Linked DNA regions of Homo sapiens: all the other regions are linked to region 1. Evidence: promoter capture Hi-C in 16 types of primary human blood cells and fetal thymus (Javierre and others, 2016). All regions are on one chromosome and are shown on one strand. The core of a region is centred on a gene start or on the middle of the fragment in contact, and the rest is flanking DNA. Distances in the headings are between cores, read along the strand shown. Region 1 holds the start of SLTM (SAFB like transcription modulator). Region 2 has its middle 75 kb from the start of AQP9. Region 3 overlaps LOC124903499 (a long non-coding RNA gene). Region 4 has its middle 130 kb from the start of AQP9. Region 5 has its middle 43 kb from the start of GCNT3. Region 6 has its middle 72 kb from the start of GCNT3. Region 7 overlaps FAM81A (family with sequence similarity 81 member A).

Evidence for each region. The method cuts DNA at HindIII sites, captures the fragments that hold promoters and counts their contacts. A CHiCAGO score of 5 or more calls a contact.
Region 2: a contact is called between a fragment that was not itself captured here and the fragment with the promoter of SLTM in region 1, in 2 of 17 cell types (fetal thymus and erythroblasts). The highest score is 7.8, in fetal thymus.
Region 3: a fragment that was not itself captured here is called in contact with the fragment with the promoter of SLTM in region 1 in 6 of 17 cell types (total CD4 T cells, endothelial precursors, total CD8 T cells and 3 more); the score reaches 7.8 in total CD4 T cells.
Region 4: a contact is called between a fragment that was not itself captured here and the fragment with the promoter of SLTM in region 1, in 1 of 17 cell types (naive CD4 T cells). The highest score is 6.0, in naive CD4 T cells.
Region 5: a fragment that was not itself captured here is called in contact with the fragment with the promoter of SLTM in region 1 in 1 of 17 cell types (neutrophils); the score reaches 5.3 in neutrophils.
Region 6: a contact is called between a fragment that was not itself captured here and the fragment with the promoter of SLTM in region 1, in 8 of 17 cell types (naive CD8 T cells, total CD8 T cells, total CD4 T cells and 5 more). The highest score is 10.0, in naive CD8 T cells.
Region 7: a contact is called between a fragment that was not itself captured here and the fragment with the promoter of SLTM in region 1, in 17 of 17 cell types (total CD4 T cells, naive CD8 T cells, activated CD4 T cells and 14 more). The highest score is 24.6, in total CD4 T cells.

What each region holds. Positions count from the first base shown.
Region 1 is chr15:58,931,986-58,935,085 of GRCh38, reverse strand. SLTM (SAFB like transcription modulator) reads left to right here and starts at 1,407. Exons shown (of 21, transcript NM_024755.4): 1 at 1,407-1,682; 2 at 2,643-2,730. The coding sequence starts at 1,521. RefSeq lists enhancers at 961-1,050, 1,071-1,210, 1,501-1,740 and silencers at 1,241-1,420, 1,791-2,050. The HindIII fragment of the contact is 26,250 bases long and covers 1-3,100 here.
Region 2 is chr15:58,211,799-58,214,898 of GRCh38, reverse strand. No RefSeq gene overlaps it. Among named protein-coding and RNA genes, the nearest start is that of AQP9, 75 kb to the right of the region's middle. The HindIII fragment of the contact is 1,961 bases long and covers 438-2,398 here.
Region 3 is chr15:58,231,739-58,234,838 of GRCh38, reverse strand. All of the region lies in intron 1 of LOC124903499 (a long non-coding RNA gene), which reads right to left. Among named protein-coding and RNA genes, the nearest start is that of AQP9, 95 kb to the right of the region's middle. The HindIII fragment of the contact is 468 bases long and covers 1,257-1,724 here.
Region 4 is chr15:58,262,880-58,265,979 of GRCh38, reverse strand. No RefSeq gene overlaps it. Among named protein-coding and RNA genes, the nearest start is that of AQP9, 130 kb to the right of the region's middle. The HindIII fragment of the contact is 4,002 bases long and covers 1-3,100 here.
Region 5 is chr15:59,566,918-59,570,017 of GRCh38, reverse strand. No RefSeq gene overlaps it. Among named protein-coding and RNA genes, the nearest start is that of GCNT3, 43 kb to the left of the region's middle. The HindIII fragment of the contact is 2,941 bases long and covers 40-2,980 here.
Region 6 is chr15:59,538,447-59,541,546 of GRCh38, reverse strand. No RefSeq gene overlaps it. Among named protein-coding and RNA genes, the nearest start is that of GCNT3, 72 kb to the left of the region's middle. The HindIII fragment of the contact is 5,264 bases long and covers 1-3,100 here.
Region 7 is chr15:59,504,000-59,507,099 of GRCh38, reverse strand. All of the region lies in intron 4 of FAM81A (family with sequence similarity 81 member A), which reads right to left. Among named protein-coding and RNA genes, the nearest start is that of FAM81A, 67 kb to the right of the region's middle. The HindIII fragment of the contact is 3,067 bases long and covers 1-3,014 here.

The sequences.
Region 1 (3,100 bases), core at 158-2,657:
CTCCCGAGTAGCGGGGATTACAGGTGCTCACCACCACACCCGGCTAATTTTTGTATTTTTTGTAGAGACGGGGTTTCTACTAAACCCTGTATCTTGGCCAGTTTGGTCTTGAACTCCTGACCTCAAGTGATGGGCCAGAAGATTTCTAAGGAGTCTTGCATTCTAAACTTCTATTATTGTGAATCCAATGTTGTAGCAGAGACAGAGCTGGATTTGGAATCAGGAGCCTGGGATTTGAGCACAGCTCGGCCACATACCAGCTGTGTGAACATGGGCAAGTCATTTAATCTCTCTAAGCCTCACGGAGATTTACTTGACAGACTTGGGAAGGATTAAGGGGGTTACTGTACGTCAAAGTGCCTTATAAACTGTAAAGAACTACCCTAATGTCAGGTATTCTTTTATAATGTCCAGTCTTCCTTTTTTTTGAGCCAATCAGAAAAAGTAACCTAAAGTGAGTCAGATCTCAGGAATTTAAGTTGTAAAACCAGGAAATACAGTATAGTTAATTGTGCATCATAATCACCTTATGGAATTTATAGAATCGTTTTATTTTATCAATGCTTGCACTTTGATAATGAATAATACAAGGTAAAATTACAAATAGGTACTCACTTGTACAGGCCGATCCTCCATAAGAAGATGCTCACTGTTCTTGGAATCCCAAATTTTGGGGGGCAAAATAGTGAACACAGTATATGATAACGGCAACAAGTACTTATAAGCTAGTTTTCTCTTTCATTGAACAATTTCGTGTTGAGCCATCAGGTCTACCGGGGAGGATAGCAAACCTGAGGCCAACAAGAAAGAAGTTTTCCTGTTTTTCAAGTGAGGAAGGGCAGCCCTAGAATAACCTAAGCTGCCATGGGCAGGGCGATGATGTTTTCTCCTGAGACAGCCAATGAGCCATGTGTCAAAGGCCAGCCCTTCCTATTCTTTGGACTAACAGCCCTAGAACTGCTTTGAGGTCTTTTGAATGGAACTCGGGGAACCTAGTTCGTTGGTGCACACCGGCGACAATTTTTCGATTATTCAGCAGAACTGATAAAGTATTTCCTTGAGAGGTTCAGCGCGCGCACGCGCCCCCTCGGTTTGTGTTGAGTAACGCGCGCACTATGTCATTCAGTGCCCGCACATCGTTGTTGCTCAAGACTCAAGACGTTGCAAGAAAATGGCTAACGAAGCGACGAGAGAACGGCGGCGCGGCGGACGTTGCTGCGGTAGGACGTGCCCGACCTCCCAGTCCACACAAGGGAGCGCACCGCCCAAGTGGCCGCGGCCCGCTCGACCGAGCGCGCCGCTGCCGGTCCCTGCGCCAACGCGCACGCGCGGCCGTCATCCGGGTGCTGGCGGCTGCTGCTGCAGGTTGCGCTAGGGTGGCGGACCGGGGGAGGGGCCAGCGGCTCATTGTGCGCAGCGCTGCGCGGCGCCGGCGGCCGCCGAGGCCTGGGTGGAAGTTGGCGCTGCTGCCGCCGCCCTGCAGCCCACTCGCTGCCTCGGCAGCGCGCTGCTCTTCTAAGATGGCTGCCGCTACCGGTGCGGTGGCAGCCTCGGCCGCCTCGGGTCAGGCGGAAGGTAAAAAGATCACCGATCTGCGGGTCATCGATCTGAAGTCCGAGCTGAAGCGGCGGAACTTAGACATCACCGGAGTCAAGACCGTGCTCATCTCCCGACTCAAGCAGGTGAGGCCCGGCGAGGACCGGAAAGGACCGGGAAGGGGAACTTAGGCCGCGCCTCGGCGCCCCGCTTCCGCCGCAGCCTCCGGCTGCCCGCAGCCGCTGGGACCTGCGGAACGGCATGGTAGGGAGGCCAGGGGCGGCTCCCGCGAGCGTGGAGGACGGGGACCCTTCCGCGGTGCCCCCGCCCCGCGCCCCGGGCCGGGCCGGGCCTGCGAGGGACCGGCCACCGCAGCCCAGCGTGCCTCCGCCTCCCCGGGACGTCCCCGCCAGGCTGCGAGGGTTGCGGCCGGCCGGCGCGGCCTCCCAAGGGCGATCGCGGAGACCTGGGAGGCGCTGGCTCCCCAGCCTTTAGCCATGGTGAGCGTGTGCATTTCTTGGCCTCAGAGGGAATGGTTACTTTGGTGACTTCTGCGAAGTTACCGTTTAATTGTGCCCAACCGTTTCTTCCCCATCTTGAGGGGGAATTGGTAGTGGGAGTTGATGGGTGGGTGACAGAGTTTTTGTTTTCCACTAGGCTTTTAGTTTTTGCATCAGCGCAATAATTACTTTTTCTTTCCTGATTAGCTTTCTGGTTTGAGTGAGCGTTGGAATTGTAGCAGAGGAGCAGTAAGTTTGCATTACAGAAACTAGGAAAACTCTTTTTAGTTATTTACTTTAGTAGCTAGCAACTTTTCTGCAATAGAACATATTTGGATTTTTGGCCAGTATGATGTGATATTTAATTATCTTGACACGGTAGAATTTAAAACTCCTTGCGATTTTGATACCTAATGATTTTTTTCCCCTGAAAGTTTCTCTCACTCTTTCGTGTAGTTTAATTGCTCATTTTTGAAGTCGGTTGATGAAATGACTGGCAATTCTAATGTCTTGAGGCTTGAGGTTTGCTAAATTTTTTTTCATTTCGTTTTTATAAAATAAGTTTAGATAGATTGTGTAGCATATTAACTTCTCTTTCTAATGTAGGCTATTGAAGAGGAAGGAGGCGATCCAGATAATATTGAATTAACTGTTTCAACTGATACTCCAAACAAGAAACCAACTAAAGGCAAAGGTTGTTACGAGTTATGAACATGTTTTAAAATATATTTTGGTTATATAACTTGCCTCTGCTCTTGTGCCTCTTGCCCTGTTTATATAGTGCTACTCTTTGCTATTTCCCTCTGGCAGTCTGCCTTCTTGGGTCAAGGAAGAAAAGTTACTGTTGCCAGGCTTTGGGTGACTTGTAGCCCTTAAGATTCGGCTGAAGCTGATTAGAAAGTGAGAACAGTTCTTTATTGCTTCCGGAAAAAATTACAAAGTCAAGTTGTGTAATGATGCTTCATAGTGTGAAGACCTGAATAAAATACAGTTTAACACATGTCTACCTTGCCCCACAATTGGCAGAGTTTTGATGGAATTCCTACCAAATCTTTTACCTTGCC
Region 2 (3,100 bases), core at 169-2,668, 720 kb after region 1:
TTCTCCAATCTCCAACGGGGTAGTGCCTTCTGCAAAAGGGTAGCTTTAAACACACCAACCTATAAATTAAACCACCATGCTGAGTTTGCACGAGAACATTTTGCAAGGTAGTTAAACAATGAAAAGTAAGCGTGTTTCCTATTGGGTCCTTTTCCCCTCAAAGAAAGGGAACTAGTGGTGGAGATGCTCAATGGAAATCAAGCATAAATTAAGGGGCTTAAGCCTTCCTAGGTAGAGAAGTAAAAATAACCGAGAAATCCTCAAGGTTGGATTTAACTTTTCTGCTTTTTTTCTCCGAATCCGTCCTTCCCCCACCCCCTTTTTGTGTTTTCATTTAACATTGCATTTTCTTTTTCCTTTTCTGATGTACCTACAGTTTATTTTCCTTCTTTGACTGGAACAAAAGGATTTTTATTCTTAATGTGTGTTGGAAAGCTTGGTATAAAAAATTCTAGACAGTCAGCCCTGTCCCCCATCTAGCTGTTGCTTATAATGGACCTCTTTTCAGTGAATATCTAATGAAGGTAGCTGTTAAATAAAAATGAATGTTATATATAAAATTGTAAAATGTTATTTTCTACCTTTTAGAGAAAAAGCATATCAATGTGGAATGTATAATTTACAGTCAAGCTGGAAGACTACAGCAACTTAAATGGTACTAGGCACGGAACGGGCAGGAAATCAAAAGTCATCAAGGAAAGTTGGAGGATATTCCAGAGATTGCAACATAAGCCCCAGAGGTTCAATGTATTTGCTGAGTAAGGGCCTTTTAGAAAAACAAGTCTGTGGGTTGATATTATTGGCACATTCCCTCCAAATGACAGACATCATCTCTTCTCCTGAATTTATGGGGCTGAGTTTCTCATTTGTAGTATGGTGTGTGTCTCTGCATATGGAACTCTAAAATTAGCTTTTTAAAAGCAGGCATAACAAGCTGCTGGCCTGGGTTTTATTTCATCTGTATAATATTTTTAAAAATAAGAAATTTGCACATGAAATCCCTGATTTCCAACTTCTCTGGGAAGATCTGGCAACCCTGGGCTTGAATTTTCTCCTGTTAAACGTTGCTTATCTCCCATGGCTGTGAGCTCTGCAGTTTGCTGCCACCCTTAGAAGTCCCTGTTGTATATCCAGACGGCTTTATTTAAATGGCTGGCTCCCAGCAGCCTCTGAGTTTGAGACCTGTGTCATAGAGTTTCAATTCATTTTGGTGAAACGATTTCTTTTTTGACAAGGATAGGTATTTACATCTATTATGGCAACTCATGCACTCAGGATGCCTTACAAGGAGTTTTACATTACATCATTTTATTTATTCCTTCCAAATTTTACGATAAATAAAATTATTATAATTACTTAAAAAATATGTCTCTGAATCTTGGAGAGGCTATGGAACTTGCCCAAGTTAGCAGCAGAGCCGAATTCAAATCCAAAGCCCTCAGAGAACTGGGGCAAAAGAGAATGGTGAGGTTGCGGTTACCCACGGCTGATTTCCTTGAAAAGAAAGAAATCAACATGATAGCATTGAACAACCATGGGTCAAAGGCCCCAGACCTGGGCCTGAAAACATGGCTTGTCTTTCTGAGGGTCTTACCGCTTATTGGTTGGTAACGTTGAGAAATCCCCTTTCCTCTCTTGGTCTCAGTTTCACAATGTACAAAATGAGGGGAGAGGGGTGGGTGGATAAGGAGACCTCTAGAAGCCCTCAGCCTTCTGTCTTCCTTTGTGTTTAGTACATAGCTGAGAAAGGATTTGTTCCTTTTCTTCTGCTCCCTCTGCTGGGCATGGAGCAAGAGGACACTTTTTGCTGCCCAAGCCCTTTTGAATTTAATTGAATCATTTATCAAGGGCTTGCGCTGTACAAGGTCATGGTGGACTCCTGGTCACCTGATGAGACCTAGACTAGCGATGATTATGAGTCACTTTCTGATCACTGTGCAGAGCAAAAGAAGTGAAGGTCTGAAGTATCTCAGGATTCTATTGTAAACATGGAAGTTGTAGAATCAGAAACGTCATAATAGAGAGACAACGAGAGCTCATATTTATAAAGCACTAACAATAGGCCAGGCATTATCTTAACCATTTTATCTATTTTCATTTCCATTTGACTTTTAAAGCAAAACTATGAAAGTTGCCATTTATTATCTTCATGTTGCACTGGGTGGGAGGTTAGAATAGAATCCCCTTCTTTTTCAGATGAAGAAATTGAGGCCCAGGGACATTAAATGACTTACCCGAAGTCAGGCAGCAGCTCAGTGCTAGCAGAGCTAAGACTGGAAGCTATTCTAGAACTGTGTTTTATTTATTCATTCAGTTTCTCCAATTTAAAGCCTGGCTAAGGAGATAGGACTAATACACCCAGAAATAATTAACAGGAGGAGGCATGTAATTAGAAGCTTAAATTTCAAGAGTGGAAATGGGCCTTAGAGGCTATCTATTATGACTTCCTACACAAACAAACATCTCTCCATACCCCTGACCATTGAGTGCTTAGCATTTGACTTGAAACCCACCTCTAGTCCTAATTTTGTTCCTTGGAGCTATACAGGATATATCTACATCTTCTGCTGTGCACAGTCCTCCAAGAATTTCAAAATAGCTCTTTTGAACCTATAGAACATCATATCCAAGCTAAAAACTCCAAACTTCTTTAAGTCTTTCACATTATACATGATTTTGAGCAATAGTCATTATAAACCTGGTTGTCTCCCTTCGATGGATTACAGAAACGGCTTCCAATGAATGATACCTCCCGGTATTCCTGTCCTTGTGTAGTCCCCTCCCATCCTGAAGGTAGGTTCTTTGACCTACATAGAATGTGACAGAGGTGACTCTTTGCTAGTTCTGATCTTCAGCCTCAAGAAGGCCTGATAAGTTTGATTTTTGTGCCCTTAGAAGCTAGTGCCACGTAAGAAGTTCAGCTAGCCTGGGCCGGCTGTGGTGGCTCACACCTGTAATCCCAGCACTTTGGGAGGCCAAGGCAGGCAGATCATGAGGTTAGGAGTTCGAGACCAGCCTGACCGACATGGTGAAACCCCGTCTCTACTAAAAATACAAAAATTAGCCAGGCGTGGTGGCGCACGCCTGTAATCCTAGCTAC
Region 3 (3,100 bases), core at 241-2,740, 700 kb after region 1:
CTTCACCCTCCCGAGTAGCTGGGATTATAGGCATGTGCCCTAACACCCAGCTAATTTTTGTATTTTTAGTAGAGACAGGGTCTCACCTAGTTGGGCAGGCTTGTCTCGAATTCCTGACCTCAGGTGATCCACCCGCCTTGTCCTCCCAAAGTGCTGGCATTACAGGCATGAGCCAGCATGCCCAGCCTACATTTCTTTTTAAAGTGAACAGAACCCAATATGAATCTTCAGTAAATTATTTTCCTTAATCATAGAATAGATGGCATCACTTCCTTTATGATTATTCCTATAGACCTTTGCCAACTCAGCCTTAAGATCCAAATATAAATCACAGAACAGTGGAGATGGAAGATTTAGGATCATCGAGATTTAATCTCTTACTTCATAGACAAGGAAACTATGAGAAGTGAGGTGATTTGGCCAAAGTCACAGAGATAAATTAGTAGTTACAACAGATTATATTTCGTATAATTGTTTGCTTAAAGCCACATTTCTGAGTCACTTGTCTTAGAAGTTGGGGAAAAAGGCAGGGTGAAAGAAAAAAGTTGAGCTATCAAGGTTCAAGACAAAAGGTGAATTGGGACCTTGTATGGAAGGCGGATGTCAGAATGGGAAATGAAAGGATACCAGCTGCTCAAAGCCAAAGACAGAGCACAAACCAAAGACATGAGTGAGTCAAGGGAGGGGAGTTCATGAAGGGTTGGTCTGTGCCAAGGAGGTGAACTACAAGGGAAACTTAGGGGGTTCATGAGGCTGTGCTTTCAATTGCATTAACTTCTCTTGCAGGCTTGCTCTTTTTAGAACAGAGGAGTTTTATATTTTTTAAAAATTGAGGTAATTATTTACGTAATTAAGAAATCAAACAGTGTTAAAAAGCTTATAATACAAAGCAGTAGTTCCCTGAACAAACCCACACCGGCTGCTGGTTCTTTGCTAAGGGACATGCTTTGAATTTTTAGCTGGTTTCTCTGAGTTACGTGTGCATTTAAATACGTGGGTATATTGCAGTATTTAAACTTACAAATGTTATCAGAGATGAAGATTTAATATCTCCACCTCTCTTCAGCCTCTCACCCAAATTTTACCACACTTTAAGTTATATCAATCATAGGTCTTTAAACCATTATGACAATGTAAGTATTGTATTGTTCACTCCAGAACCCATTAGAATACTGGGATTCCATATTTTTTCTTGAATAGGCTTTGGTCATTCCTTGAGTTAATAATTGCCTGATTGCATCTTCTTTCCAGAAGCTTCATCATATCACCTATTGCATCACCCTTTCTATTGTGGGTCTACTTTTTCCTGGACACTCCTTCGTGAAGCACTATCTCTTCTGCACCAGTGAGGATTAGTGGCTCTCTAGTTCTGCCACACTTGGGATTAACTTGGGATCTTCTCTCAATAGCTTTTCTAGGTTGGATTTAGGTTTCTGGGATGCCATGTTTTCTTTTTCCTTGATTATTTCCTTGTAACCAAGATGCCTATCCTCCAGGCACTTTTAAGAAAGGAACGTCAATTATCTGAGTCTAAACAAGTCTGCAAATGTCCATTCTGTTTTCATACTTGATTCAATTTGCCTTGTTGTAAAATTCTAGGCTGAAAAATTATCTTCTTTAACATTTTGAAGGCATTGCTTCATTGTTGCCTGGCTTTTATGTTGTAGTTCAGACCACAAACACTATTCTGATTCTAATTCTATTGATTTGTTCCCTTTGAAGCTTTTAGAATCATCTTTTTATTCCCGATGTTCCAAATTTTCACCTCTTGGGAGGTCTTTCTTAATTTGTTTGTTGACCATTCAACAACAGGTCAGTAGGCTTTTGATAGTGAAATGTACTGACACCAGAGTTGGATGGCCCAGATTCAAAATCTGACTCCACCATATAGCAGCTATGGCACTGATTAACTTACTAACCCTCTCTGGGCTAGTTTTTTTGTCTGGGAAATCCCGAGGAACCTCATGACATTGCTATGAGGATTAAAACAAATAATATACATGCAGCATTTAGAGTAGTGCCTGGCACATAGTGGCAAATGCTGTATTGAGATAGTCATTGTCAGCATTCAGTTCTGCAGAATCAGCATAGCAGAGTGCCGTACCCAACCATGTGTCCCCCTGATTGGACTGGCTGCCATTCACTGATGGCCCCCCAGGAAAACCACTTGGCCCCAACCACACTCTTAAAGGCTGCAGAGGGGACTTTTGACCTTTGTTGAGTTCTGACTCTGTCATCACCAGTGTGGAGCACTGCTTTCTTGGCTGGCCAGGCCCACCATGGCAGCTGCTCCAATCCTTCGTGCCACTCACATGAAGGCATGATTCAACAGGACCTGTGTCATACCTCATGCAACTGTCATTCACTTCCTTCCCTAGGACTTCCCTGTTCCCACTAAGGCATGAGACTGTGGGTGCACCCAGCACCTGCACTTGCCTGATGGCTTTCTGAGCAGGGTCTGAGACACTGCAGGCAGCTGTGCAAGCTTGTGGGTGTGCCACTGGCCCATGCACACTTGCTGGCTGCCATTGCTGCTGCTGCTGCAGTGGGATCTGGCTTCCTTGATGGCTTCTGGAAGAGCCAGATGGAGCAGCCAAGAAGCATAGGGGAGGAAGGATAAAATCTTATGGGGCAAGTCCGACCATTGGAAATGGGAACCAGCAGATAAATTTTCCTATTTGCTCTCAGTTGGATCGTTAAGAGACTGAAAAGCAAACATCTTTACTCATTACAAATCCATGGCCAGCTTGGGAGCACCCTCTCTTATATTTGTTCCCCCTCCTTCCCTGCCTTGTTCCCTCCTTTCCATCATTCTTGCTTTTTGGGGATTGCGTTCCCCAGTGAAGAGTTAGCAAGAAAAATTTAGTCTTTGGGTTTGGTTTGTAGGAAATCCAGACTAAGACACAGTGAGTCCCAGAGCTTGAGCTCCTGAGCTGGACTCTGGTTTTGAATCCTGGTCCTGGCCCTGCTGGCTGGAAGGCACTGGACAAGTTACTCAACCTCATTATTGTCTTATGGCATTGCTTCCTTCACTGAGGGGCATGGAGACAAAATAATAAAGGTATTTCTGGTGATGAAATGTACTTCAGTTTCCTTATCT
Region 4 (3,100 bases), core at 286-2,785, 670 kb after region 1:
TTTTTTTTTTGAGACGGAGTCTTGCACTGTTACCCAGGCTGGAGTGCAGTGGCGCTATCTCAGCTCACTGTAAGCTCCACCTCCCGGGTTCACGCCATTCTCCTGCCTCAGCCTCCCAAGTAGCTGGGACTACAGGCGCCCACCACCACGCCCGGCTAATTTTTTGTATTTTTAGCAGAGACGGGGTTTCATCATGTTAGCCAGGATGGTCTCGATCTCCTGACCTCGTGATCCGCCTGCCTCGGCCTCCCAAAGTGCTGGGATTACAGGCGTGAGCCTTTGAGCATGGCCAGTCCTGTGAATTTTAATGCACGTGTAGATTTGCGTTACCATCACCACAGCTGGGATACAGAAGAACCCCACCACCCTGGTGGACTATCCCTTTGTAGTCCCATCTTCCTCCTGACAACCACTAATCTATTCTTCATCACTATAATTTTGTCTTTTCATAAATGTCATAAATGGAGTAATAAATTATGTGACCTTTTACTACCAGTTTCTTACACACAGCACGATGCCTTCAGATCCACCCAAGTTGTGCAGTGCGGGTACCCACGGTTTGTTCCCATTTATTCTTCCCTGTGCACCTCTCTTCAACCCCACTCCTCTTCCTCCCTTGCCAAAGGGAACCCCTGCCCCGAAGTCAGTGTGTTAGAATCTCATGAATATTTTAATAGTTTTAGCTGCAAAACAATATATGGTTTTTGGTTCCTAGTGTTTAAAATGTAAATAAATGGCATCATAACATACAAACCATGCTGTAAAATGTTTCTATAACTCAGCATTATGTTTTTGAGGGATATCCACTTTGGTGCCATGTTAATGCTGGGTTACAAATCTTCATCACTCTATAACATTCTGTTATATGAGTACATCATGTATTCATCCGTTTGCCTGTGGAGGAACATGTTTTTTCCCTGTCTGTCTCTCTGTCCCATTACCTCACTCTGAATAGCAGTATTTGGCTCCCTCCTAAACCCCACTCCCTTCCCCAGGGCCTCCAGTCCCTAAGCAGGCCTTGCTGATGTTCAGAAGTACCCACAATGGGGGCAAATCCCAAATCTCATCTTCAAGCTGGCTGCTTGCTTGGCTGAGTACCTGGGCAGAGCCTTTGTCTGGATCCGTTGACCCCTAAGCCCAAGGTGTTAATTAACATCAATCCTGGATGTATGTTGCAATCTCCAAAGGAGTCCTTTAAACAGGAAAGAGGGAGAGGGGGAGAGAGTAGGAGGGGAAGAGAGAGGAGTAAAGGGAGAAGAGGGAGAGAGATTAGGAGGGGAAGAGAGAGGAGTAAAGGGAGAAGAGGGAGAAGGAGGGAAGGGACTGGGAAACGGGGAGGGAAAGGAGAGAGAGAGGGAGAAAGAATTAAAGAAATTAAGTCAGAATTTCTGGGCAGTGGTATTTTTCTAAAAACTTATCAAGTTAAAGATGCAGCCAGGGTAACAAACCCTTGATTAAAACAAAACAATGTTCCAGGCAGCATTTTCTAGCTTTCCAGAAGGTTTGGGAGCCCCAAACCCTGACTTTCCACTCCCTCCATCCCTACCCCTTTTAGCCCTTACAGCCTTGTGGGAGCCACCATCTGAGCTTTCAGAACCAGGCACCAAAGCCCTGGCCTCAGTCCAGCTCCTGGTGGGCTTTCTTGTCATTTGTAGTACACAGGGATGTTTATCTGGTTTCTGAGTCTCACTACAGTGTATAAGTCTTCTCCATTTGTTCTTTATCTGATATGTCTATATGTTGGAGCAAAGATGTTATCTGAGGGCATGAACTTACAGAAATGTTTCCTGTCTCACTTTTGAATGCATACTTTATTCGCTGAAGGACTGCTATTGTACCTTCAAAGGAACTTACGATGCCACCTTATAAAATACCTTCTTTTTGTATTTTGCCTTTTTTAAATGAAAAGGTATTGCTTTTTCTCATTTTAGAAATAATTCATGCTTGCAGTAAAAAGTTCAAACGCTATGGAAATGTATGACTTAGAAAATGAAAGAAAGTGTTCCGTAATCATGCCCCCGCAGATGATTACCACAAATAATTTTGAGCCTATTTTTCCATATGTTTACCATACACATACTAACTTTACAAAAATAAAAATGAAATTACATTGGAGAACTGTAGGGCCAATTGATTTCTGCAGTTAGTGTATCATGGAAAGTTTTCAGTACTTACATAACTTATTTCATTATTTTTAATGGACACATGGTGTTCCTTTGTCTGGTTGTACTGAGGTGCATTTACTGAGGGCCATTTGGGATGTTTTGGTTTTGGCATCATAGATGATGCTGAAATAAACTTTTCTTATGTACATCTCTGTGTATTTATGTAAGGTCAAAAACTGCTTTATCTCTTGGAACAGAAGTGAATGCATTTGCAGGGGAAAGGATAGAGCGGAGGGAGGCTGGTGCCCTTCTCAGCAGTCAGAAGGCAGTAGATGCTTGGGGCTACTTTAGATACTTGGCCCTAGGAGAATATATCTCCTGAGTCTCAAAACTCTCAATGCCGTGCATACCATGACAGATTCCCTTCACTCCACCCTGTCCTGAACCTTTTGGATTGCAGTACACCAGTCTCCAGAAGGTTAACTTGGAAAGGTTAGGGAAGTGTAGGTTTTTGTTTGTTTGTTTGTTTTATCCCTAGATTGCTTATAAAGTGTAGTATTTTTCAAATTGCAGAGCTGTGACCCATTCATGGATTATGAAATAAAATTAGAGGGTTACAAACAAGCAATTAAAAAATAGGGGACAGAGCGAGACTCTGTCTCAAACAAAACAAAACAAAACAAAAAAGAATAGTACAGAAAATAAGAGTGCATGACATGAAGTAAGTGTAAGTACTGTTTACTCAAAATTTTATTTCAGGTGTGTGTGTATACGTGTATCTGTGTGTGTGTCTTAAGTCAGTTTCCCTAGAAGCAGAGCTCAACAAAACAGATCTGGGTGTGTGTGATCTGGAAAAGTGAGGGGGACCAGCTGGGGCAGGAGAAGGAGCTGAACGAGAGTGTGTGCTCCCAGCGTGATTTCTGGGGCTCTGATGCTTGAGTTGTTCCACAGACCTGGTGCTGCCTTAGGGAAGGGGCCAGACTGTGAACTCCCAG
Region 5 (3,100 bases), core at 261-2,760, 630 kb before region 1:
TACAGAAAAGATAAAATGTCAATGTCAGAGAAAGAAGCTTCACGGATTGTAATTTCAGGTCAATGTTGGAGAAAGGAAGACTCCAGGGTTTATAATTTCAGGTTCTACAAGAGGACCTGTCCAGGAGTTACTAACGTGAAGGGGGGTGTCAAGACACCATAAGGCCAGATGCTGGATAAGTCACTCATCTGGACACTGGAGATGCTCCAGATGACTGCCAGGGACTGAGTGCTGGGCAAGCCTGAGATCCAGGGACCAATATGCCCAGGGCATCTGGAAGAGACCTGGAGGCGGTGGCAGTAAGTATACACAGCAGGCAACAGGGCTGCCTGGTGGTGGCTTGAGAGGAAGCGATCAAACCACTGAAAGCAGACGTGGAGAGCACAGAGACGATGCCATCCTCCTGACTCGAGCGTGCAGGGACTATGAGGTTGTAGGGTGGGGTGCTTTTAAAAAATGGGGGGAGGAGGAGCGAGCCCACACAGGAGGATGAGGACAATAATAACAGCAAGGTTTTCTCCGTGCAAGAGATAGGAGGTCAGATTAGGTGAGGGAGCCAGGCCACTCCAGCAAAGGCCTTTTCCTTGAAGACCAGCAGGCCTCGTGGCATCCCCTCTCCCATCAGCCCTCAGCTAATCACTGAACCTTCTTTAAATCATAGGATTTCTTCCTCAGGTTTTCCTCAAGTTACAGGATTTCAGTGGTGGCATTATGCTCCCTACCCAAAGGGCCTTCAGGGCCCATTTTCTGAGTCGAAGTAACAGACATGAACTCTACAGAAGAGCTTTGAAGTACTTGCAACTGTCCGATAAAGAATGGGCTTCCCCCTAAGTAATAATTGGAGGTGTTCTACTGCATGCACCACAGTACCTCTCTGAATAACACACCCCCAAGAGGAAGGATCTGGAATCATAATGTAAGTGCATCATCTCCTGAAACCTTTCTCAGAGTGAAAATTAAAAGCCTGCTGTAAGGGATGACACCGGGCACTGAGTAAAATGCACGTTCTCGACTGGTGCTCCTGCCCCACTCCTTTCTTAGTATGTAACCATTAGTCCAGATTGATATTTTGCCATCTTATTTCTCAGATTGCACTTTTGTTTATGTGTGCACACACTATAGTTCCATTTGTCACCGGGAAAGTACAGCTATTAATTATCACCTATATTGACTTTCAGTTAATTGAAGGCAGGAAGAAGGAAGAAAAAGAGAAAAAAATCAAGCTCTAACAACTTGGGTTGGGGAAATAAAAGGCAAAGGTCATTGACAGATAAGAATATTTTACTGTACATAAGAATGGCTAATTTTTACTGTAGATAAGAATTTACTGCAGATTAGACTATCTAATTTTTTTCTTAGATCGAGTCTTGCTCTGTCGCCCAGGCCAGAGTGCAGTGGCGCAATCTCGGCTCACTGTAACCTCAGCCTCCCGGGTTCAAGCGATTCTCTTGCCTCAGCCACCTGAGTAGCCGCGACCACAGGCGCATGCCACCATGCCCAGCTAATTTTTTGTATTTTTAGCACAGATGGGGTTTCACCGTGTTAGCCAGGATGGTCTTGATCTCCTGACCTCGTGATCTACCCACCTCAGCCTCCCAAAGCGCTGGGATTACAGGCGTGAGCCACTGCGCCCAGCCTAAAAAGTTTTTTATTTAAAAGTTATAGTATGCTAAGGTTAATTAATGAGACAAATTTTATAAATTTAGTGTTGCCTAAGTGTACAGTGTTTACAAAGCCTACAGTAGTGTACAGCAATGTCCTAGACCTTCACATTCACTCACCACTCACTCACACACTAACTCACCCAAAGAACTTCCAGTTCTGGCCAGGTGCGGATAGGCTCACACCTGTAATCCCAGCACTTTGGGAGGCTAAGGCGGGTGGATCAGGAGGTCAGGAGTGCAACACCAGCCTGGCCAAGATGGTGAAACCCCATCTCTACTAAAAATACAAAAATTAGCCGGGCATGGTGGTGGGCATCTGTAATCGCAGCTACTCGGGAAACTTAGGCACGAGAATCGCTTGAACCCAGGTGGGCTGAGATCGCACCACTGCACTCTAGCCTGGGTGACAGAGCAAGACTCCGTCTCAAAAATAAATAAATAAATAAAATAAAATAAAGAAAGAAAAATGTTATTGTTGAAAAAAAAAAAAAAAAAAGAACTTCCAGTCCTATAAGCTCTATTTATGGTAAGTACCCTGTAATACAGGTGTACCATTTTCATTTTTTTTTCAGTTGAGACAGGGTCTCATTGTCTCCTAGGCTGGAGTACAGTGGCTCAATCCTAGCTCACTGCAGCCTTGAACTCCTAGGCTCAAGCAATCCTCCTGCCTCAGCCTCCCAAGTAGCTGGAACTACAGGTATGCACCACCAGAAGCAACAGGCCTAGGAGCAATAGGCCATACCATAAAGTCTAGGTGTGTAGTAGGTTATGCCATCTAAGTTTGGGTAAGTGCATGCTGTGATGTTTGCACAATGATTAAATCACCTAAAAATACATTTCTCGGAATGTATCTCCATCATAAAGCAATACATGACTAATTCTCTTTAGAATTTCTGGACTTGAAACAGCCATTTAATGCAATCAAGAACTTTTGCTGAAGGCTCATAATTCAGAGAAATACAACTGAATTCACTGAGAAAATTAGTTTTCTTTTTAAAAGAATTTTTAAATTTAATTTAAAAAATAATTCACACAGTTCAAAATTTTAATAATACAAAAAGCCTACAAACACTCTCATTTTCAGTAATGGCAAATTCGACCATTTGAACTAACCCTCCTGTTCAGAACAACTAGAAAAGGTCAACACAATTTTTTTTTCAATCTGCTTAAAACATCTAATAGCTAAAGAGATAGTGAAGAATTACTGGACCAGGATTCAGGAATGGATGAATAGCCTACAAGGTGAGCCTATCATTTAGGACAGCTTCCACCCAGGTGGCTTCTGCAGAATCTGGAAGAGACACCAGAGATAAGCTTCCAGGACCGGGGAACAGAATATGACAAAAGTAGAGACTCTGATCAATGTTTCTTATGTGATTTTGGTTGTGGCCCTTCAGAGCTGCATCTTAACTGTAAGAGTTAACACGTTGCAGGCT
Region 6 (3,100 bases), core at 166-2,665, 610 kb before region 1:
CCAGGAGAGTCCAGGCAGCAGGACTGGGAGGTCTGGAGTTCGAGACCAGCCTGGCCAACACGGCAAAACCCCATCTCTACTAAAAATACAAAACTTAGCTGGGCATGGTGGCGGGCACCTGTAATCCCCGCTACTTGGGAGGCTGAGGCAGGAGAATCACTTGAGCCCAGGAGGTGGAGGTTGCAGTGTGCCGAGATCATGCTATTGCACTCCAGCCTGGATGACAAAAGTGAAACTCTGTTTCAAAAAAAAGAAAGGGAGGGAAGGAAGGAAGGAGGAAGGGAGGGAGGGAAGGGAAGGAGGGAGGGAGGGAGGGAGGAAGGGAAGGAAGGAAGGAAAGAAGGAAGGAAGGAGGGAAAGATTTCAAGTGCTATCCTGAGAATGATTCCATCTCAACAGTTTCCTTAGGCCATTTAATTCAGTTCAAATTTCCAAGCCAAAGTATTTGCCCCTTAGTGGGAGGTAAGGAGTCCTTTCAATAACATTTCCACCAGAACCACACAGAACCGGGGCTTGTTCTTCAAGAGAAGCCAGAGGCTGTCACCCTAGTAAAAGAAGGCACAGGCTGGCCAGGCAGCAGGAGACATCCACTTCAACCCAGTTATATTTTGAACCCAAAGGCACAACCACGTCTTTATCTTTATTACATTTTTAAATGGATGTTGAGTGTTTATTTTCCTCCAGGTTATTGGTAGAGAGTGTTTTAATATTTTTATCACTCCAAAAAGAAACCTTGTCCGCATTAGCAGTCACTTATCATTCCACCTTCACCCCAGTTTCTGGAAACCACCAAGCCACTTTCTGTGTTTATAGATTGGCCTGTTCTGAACATTTTATAATGCATGAAATTTTACCCTATGTGGTCTTTTGTGACTGGCTTCCTTCACTTCAGATATATTTCCAGGCTGGTCGTGGTGTCTCACACCTATAATCACAGTACTTTGTGAGACCGAGGTGGGTAGATCGTTTGAGCCCAGGAGTTTGAGAACAGCCTGGGCAACATGGCGAAACCCCATCTCTACTAAAAATACAAAAATCAGTCAGGCATGGTGGTGAGCACCTGCATTCCCAGCTGTTTTGGGGGCTGAGGCACGAGGATCACCTGAACCTTGGGAGATCCAGGCTGCAGTGAGCCGTGATCAGGCCGCTGCACTCCAGCCTGGGCAACAGAGTGAGATACTGTCTCAAAACATTTAATTTTAAAAAAAAAGAATCTTTCCAAGGGTCATCCATGATGTAGCATGGATCACAATTCCATTCCTTTTTACGGCTGAATAATATTACATTGTATTATGTGCCACATTTTATTTATCCATTCATCAGTTGATGAATATTTGTGTTGTTCCCACCTTTTGTCTACTATGAAAATGCTTCTATGAATATTCTTTTTTTTTTTTTAGATTTCCTCAAATTCCTTTTTGTCATGTTATGAATATTCTTGTACAGGTCTTTGTGTGGACCTAGGTTTTCAGTTCTTTGGTGTACACACTTAGCAGTAAAACTGCTGGGTCATATGGGAACTCTATACTCAACATTTTGAAGAACTGCCTGTTTACCACACTCTTTTCCAGGGTGTGGCATGGTGACTCACATCTGTAATCCTAGCACTTTGGGAGGCCAAGGCAGAAGGATCACTTGAGGAGTTCAAGGTCAGCCTGAGCAACATAATAAGACCCTGCCTCTACCAAGAAAAAAAAAATATATATATATATATATACACGTATATATATACGCGTATATATATACACGTATATATATACACATATACACACGTATATATATACACGTATATATACACACGTATATATATACACGTATATATACACACATATATATACACGTATATATACACACATATATACACGTATATATACACACGTATATATACACGTATATATACACACGTATATATACACGTATATATACACACGTATATATACACGTATATATACACACGTATATATACACGTATATATACACACGTATATATACACGTATATATACACACGTATATATACACGTATATATACACACGTATATATACACGTATATATACACACGTATATATACACGTATATATACACACGTATATATACACGTATATATACACACGTATATATACACGTATATATACACACGTATATATACACGTATATATACACACGTATATATACACGTATATATACACACGTATATATACACGTATATATACACACGTATATATACACGTATATATACACACGTATATATACACGTATATATACACATATATATACACGTATATACGTATATATACACATATACGTATGTATATACACACATATACACGTATATATATATGTACATATATACACACATATATACGTACATATACATACACACACACATATATATACACACACACATATATATGTGTATATATACACATACATATATATAAAAAATATATAGCTGGGTGTGGTGGCCTGCACTGATACTCTTAAATACTCAGGAGGCCGAGTGGGTAGGATCACTTGAGCCAGGAGGTTGAGGCTACAGTGAGCTATAATTGTATCACTGCACTCTAGCCTGAGCAACAGAGTGAAAACTTATCTCAAAAATAAATAAGTAAATGAAACCAAAGGGGCTGCACCAGTTTGCATTTTCACTGGCAATATATGAGGTTTCCAAATTTCTTCACATCTTCATCAAAACTTGTTACTAGCCAGGCACAGAGCCTGATGTCTGTCATTCCGGCATTTTGGGAGGCTGAGGTGGAAGGATTGCTGGAGACCAAGAGTTTCAGACCAGCCTGGGCAACACAGTAAGACCCTGTCTCAAAAAAAAAAAATTGATTAGCTGGGTGTGATGGCATGCACCTGTGGTCCCAGGTGGGGAGGCTGATGCAGGAGGATCTCTCGAGCCCAGGAAGTCAAGGCTGCAGCGAGCCATGTTCATGCCTCTGCATTCCAGCCTGGACAACAGAGTGAGACTCTTTCCAAACAAACAAACAGACAAAAAAAACAAAAGCACACAAAACTTGTTATTGCCTGTCTTTTTTTATTCTTAATAAGATTGAAATGGTATTTCATTGTGTGTTGCTGTTTGTTTTTTTTGCGGG
Region 7 (3,100 bases), core at 232-2,731, 570 kb before region 1:
ATTCTTTTGAACAGAGGTTCAAATGAATTCCAAGAGCTGGCCTCATTATGGTTTTTAAGGTAAACCACAGGGATGTTGCTTAATAAGGCTAGAGATGTAACCACCAAAGAAATAAAGTCTTTCCAACGATCATGAGTACAACACTGTATGTGCAGCGAGAGGCCAATACAAAGAGCATAGCTAGTGTGCTGGATGTGGTCTGTCACTCTTCAGTACCACCCCTGCCTTTCGAAGTTGGGGGCCTCCTTGGATTTGGGAGGAAACTTCTACCATGTTAGAAAATATTACTTCTAAACTTTGACTGAATCACTCGTAAGGCTGTATAGTATGAGTAGGGTGTAGAGCAGGGGAAGGCTTTGCAGCCAGTTCAAGCTGTAGTAAAAGCTGCTGCCCTGTGGGCCTTGCAACTTGGCAGATCCAATGGTACTCAAAGTATGTGTGGCAGATGAGCTGTGTGGGGCCTCTGTCGAGTCCTAATAGGAGAGTCACAGAATGGACCCATAAGAGTTTAGAGCTAACTAATGCTCTGTTCTGAGACAATATTCCTCTGTTGAGAAGAAGCTGCTGGCTTGCTACTGGGCTCAGTAGAGACAGAATGCCATTAGGTGACTCTGCAATCGGAGCAATCCATCATGAATACCACACTAGAAGGTGGGCCTAGAACAGCACTCCATCTTCAAGGGGAAGGGTTCAAGCAGGTTCAAAAGGCACAAGTAAGTTACAAGAGCACAGACTCCCACCATGGCATCTATTCCTGCTACTGCACCAACTCTCCTTCAATCCATGCCTATGACTTCTTCATCTTCTCCCTCCTGCTGCTTGGGAGGCTGAGGTTGAGGCAGGAGAATTGCTTGAGCCCAGGAGTTCAAGGCCAGCCTGGGCAACATAGCAAGACCCTGTGTCTACAAAAAGATAAAACGATAATACAAAACAAAACAAAACAAACAAACAAAAAAATCTGTGGCTTCTAGAAGAGTTCTTGATGACCAGGTGGACTGAGGGAGAAAGTCAGGCCTGGCTTACAGATGGTCACACCCAGTATGCTGACACCTTCTGGAATAAGACTGCTGATGCTTCTAAGTCCACTTAGGAGTAGCCCTAAAGATTGTTAGGAAGACAGAATTTCTAACAATATATTGGGAGATTCATTTTGCCTGGAATAAGAGATGGCCAGACATTCAAGGAAAGTGGCTAATGGTTAGAGACTTAGGAAAAAAACTGGAGGATTAGTGACAAGGAAAAGAGTTTACATAAATGGATCATTCTTAAGTGACACAACATTTTTGCTCCTTGTAAATGCTCTTTGTCTCGTAGGGACTGAAGCCCCAAACTATACTTCCCAGACGTCATTGCCAGAAGGGTTCGGAGTTAGATTCTGACAGTGAGAGTCATTTATACAAGACTCAGAAGGTAGAAGAGGAGAACCCTTTATTCTCCCCTGTCAGTGGTGGGCAGACACAGGGGTGAACTGCAGATGTGAGGTGTACATCCACTTCCAGGCAGACACCATCCAGCAAATCACTTACTTCCATGCTATAGGTGGCTAAGATGATCAATGACGCCTTTCTGTGATTTTTTTTTTTTTTTCGAGACAGAGTCTAACTCTGTCACCCAGGCTGGAGTGCAGTGGCGTGATCTCGGCTCACTGCAACCTCTGCCTCCTGGGTTCAAGCCGTTCTCCTGCCTCAGCCTCCTGAGTAGCTGGGATTACAGGTACACATCACCATGCCTGGCTAATTTTTGTATTTTTAGTAAACATGAGGTTTCACCATGTTGGCCGGGCTGGTCTCAAACTCCTGACCTCAGGCAATCCACCCGCCTCAGCCTCCCAAAGTGCTGGGATTACAGATGTGTGCCACCGCGCCCAGCCCTTGTCTTAATTCTAGACTAGACATAGTTGAAGATAGAATCAGTGGCTTCAATGATAGTAGCAAGGAACTCACTCAGAATGTAGTGGACAGAGATTAAAAACATGAAAAAATAGTTAAGAAACATGGAAGTCAAATAGAGGGATGTTAACATAAGTCAAGGAGGAGTTCCAACAGAAGGAAATAGAGATAATGGCAAAGAAGCAATATTTGAGGTGTGAATGCCAACAATTTTCTAAAATTGAAGAAAGACATGAATTTTAAGATGTTCAATGACTACAAACTGGGATAAGTAAAAATACATAAAGCATGGGGAAATTCAGATAACCAATGATAAATATAAAATCTTAAAAGCTACAGACTAAAGAGAAGTAACCTACCCAAAGCTACCAAAAACTGACAATAAGACTGACAGCCCACAATAGATATAGGAGACAACAGATATCAGAAGATAATGGAGAAACATCTTCTAAGTATTGAGGGTAAATAACCTATCATCCAAGAATAAGTACAAAATAAAGACTTTTTCTAACATGCAAAGATTAGAAAAATATCACCCACAAGCCAATACTGAAAAAGTTACTAATGAATGTACTTCAGTAAAGAGAAAAGAACACCCACAAAGAAGGAGTAGGGTGCAAAAAACAATAGTGAGTAAATGGATAAAATTGTGGTAAACTTATTATTGACTCTAAAGAAAGTAAGCTACCAGCTCAATTATTCCAACTTTCTTATAGACTCTTACTTTGCAACAACTGTTCTAGAATGTAAACTGCATGCAAGGAGACATTATATATGCCTCTTTCATCACCTAAAACCCTAGTTTTATTTATTGCCTTGCATATGGTAGAGGCTTAATAAATATTTGTGAATGAATGAATATAAGGAAATATTTACTATGTACTAGGTACTGTACTAGATACTTGACATATATTATTTCATTAATCCTCACAAATCATTCCCATGTCAATGATGATTAAAAATAATGCCAAATGTAGACCCTGATTTTTTATTTTGAGTTCATAATTTTTTAGCAAAATATTATTGAAATCATATTTGGGGAAAGCTGAGGTTTTTAAAATACTATGAAATAAAAAATATAATAGTTTTTTTAAAAGACATTATTTTCCAGTCCAAACATAAGCTTCCTAGATAAACACTATCAGGTATCACTACATCAGACCAGTTTCATCAACTTTACAAAGCCGTTTGAGGGACAGACTGTGTTTTAA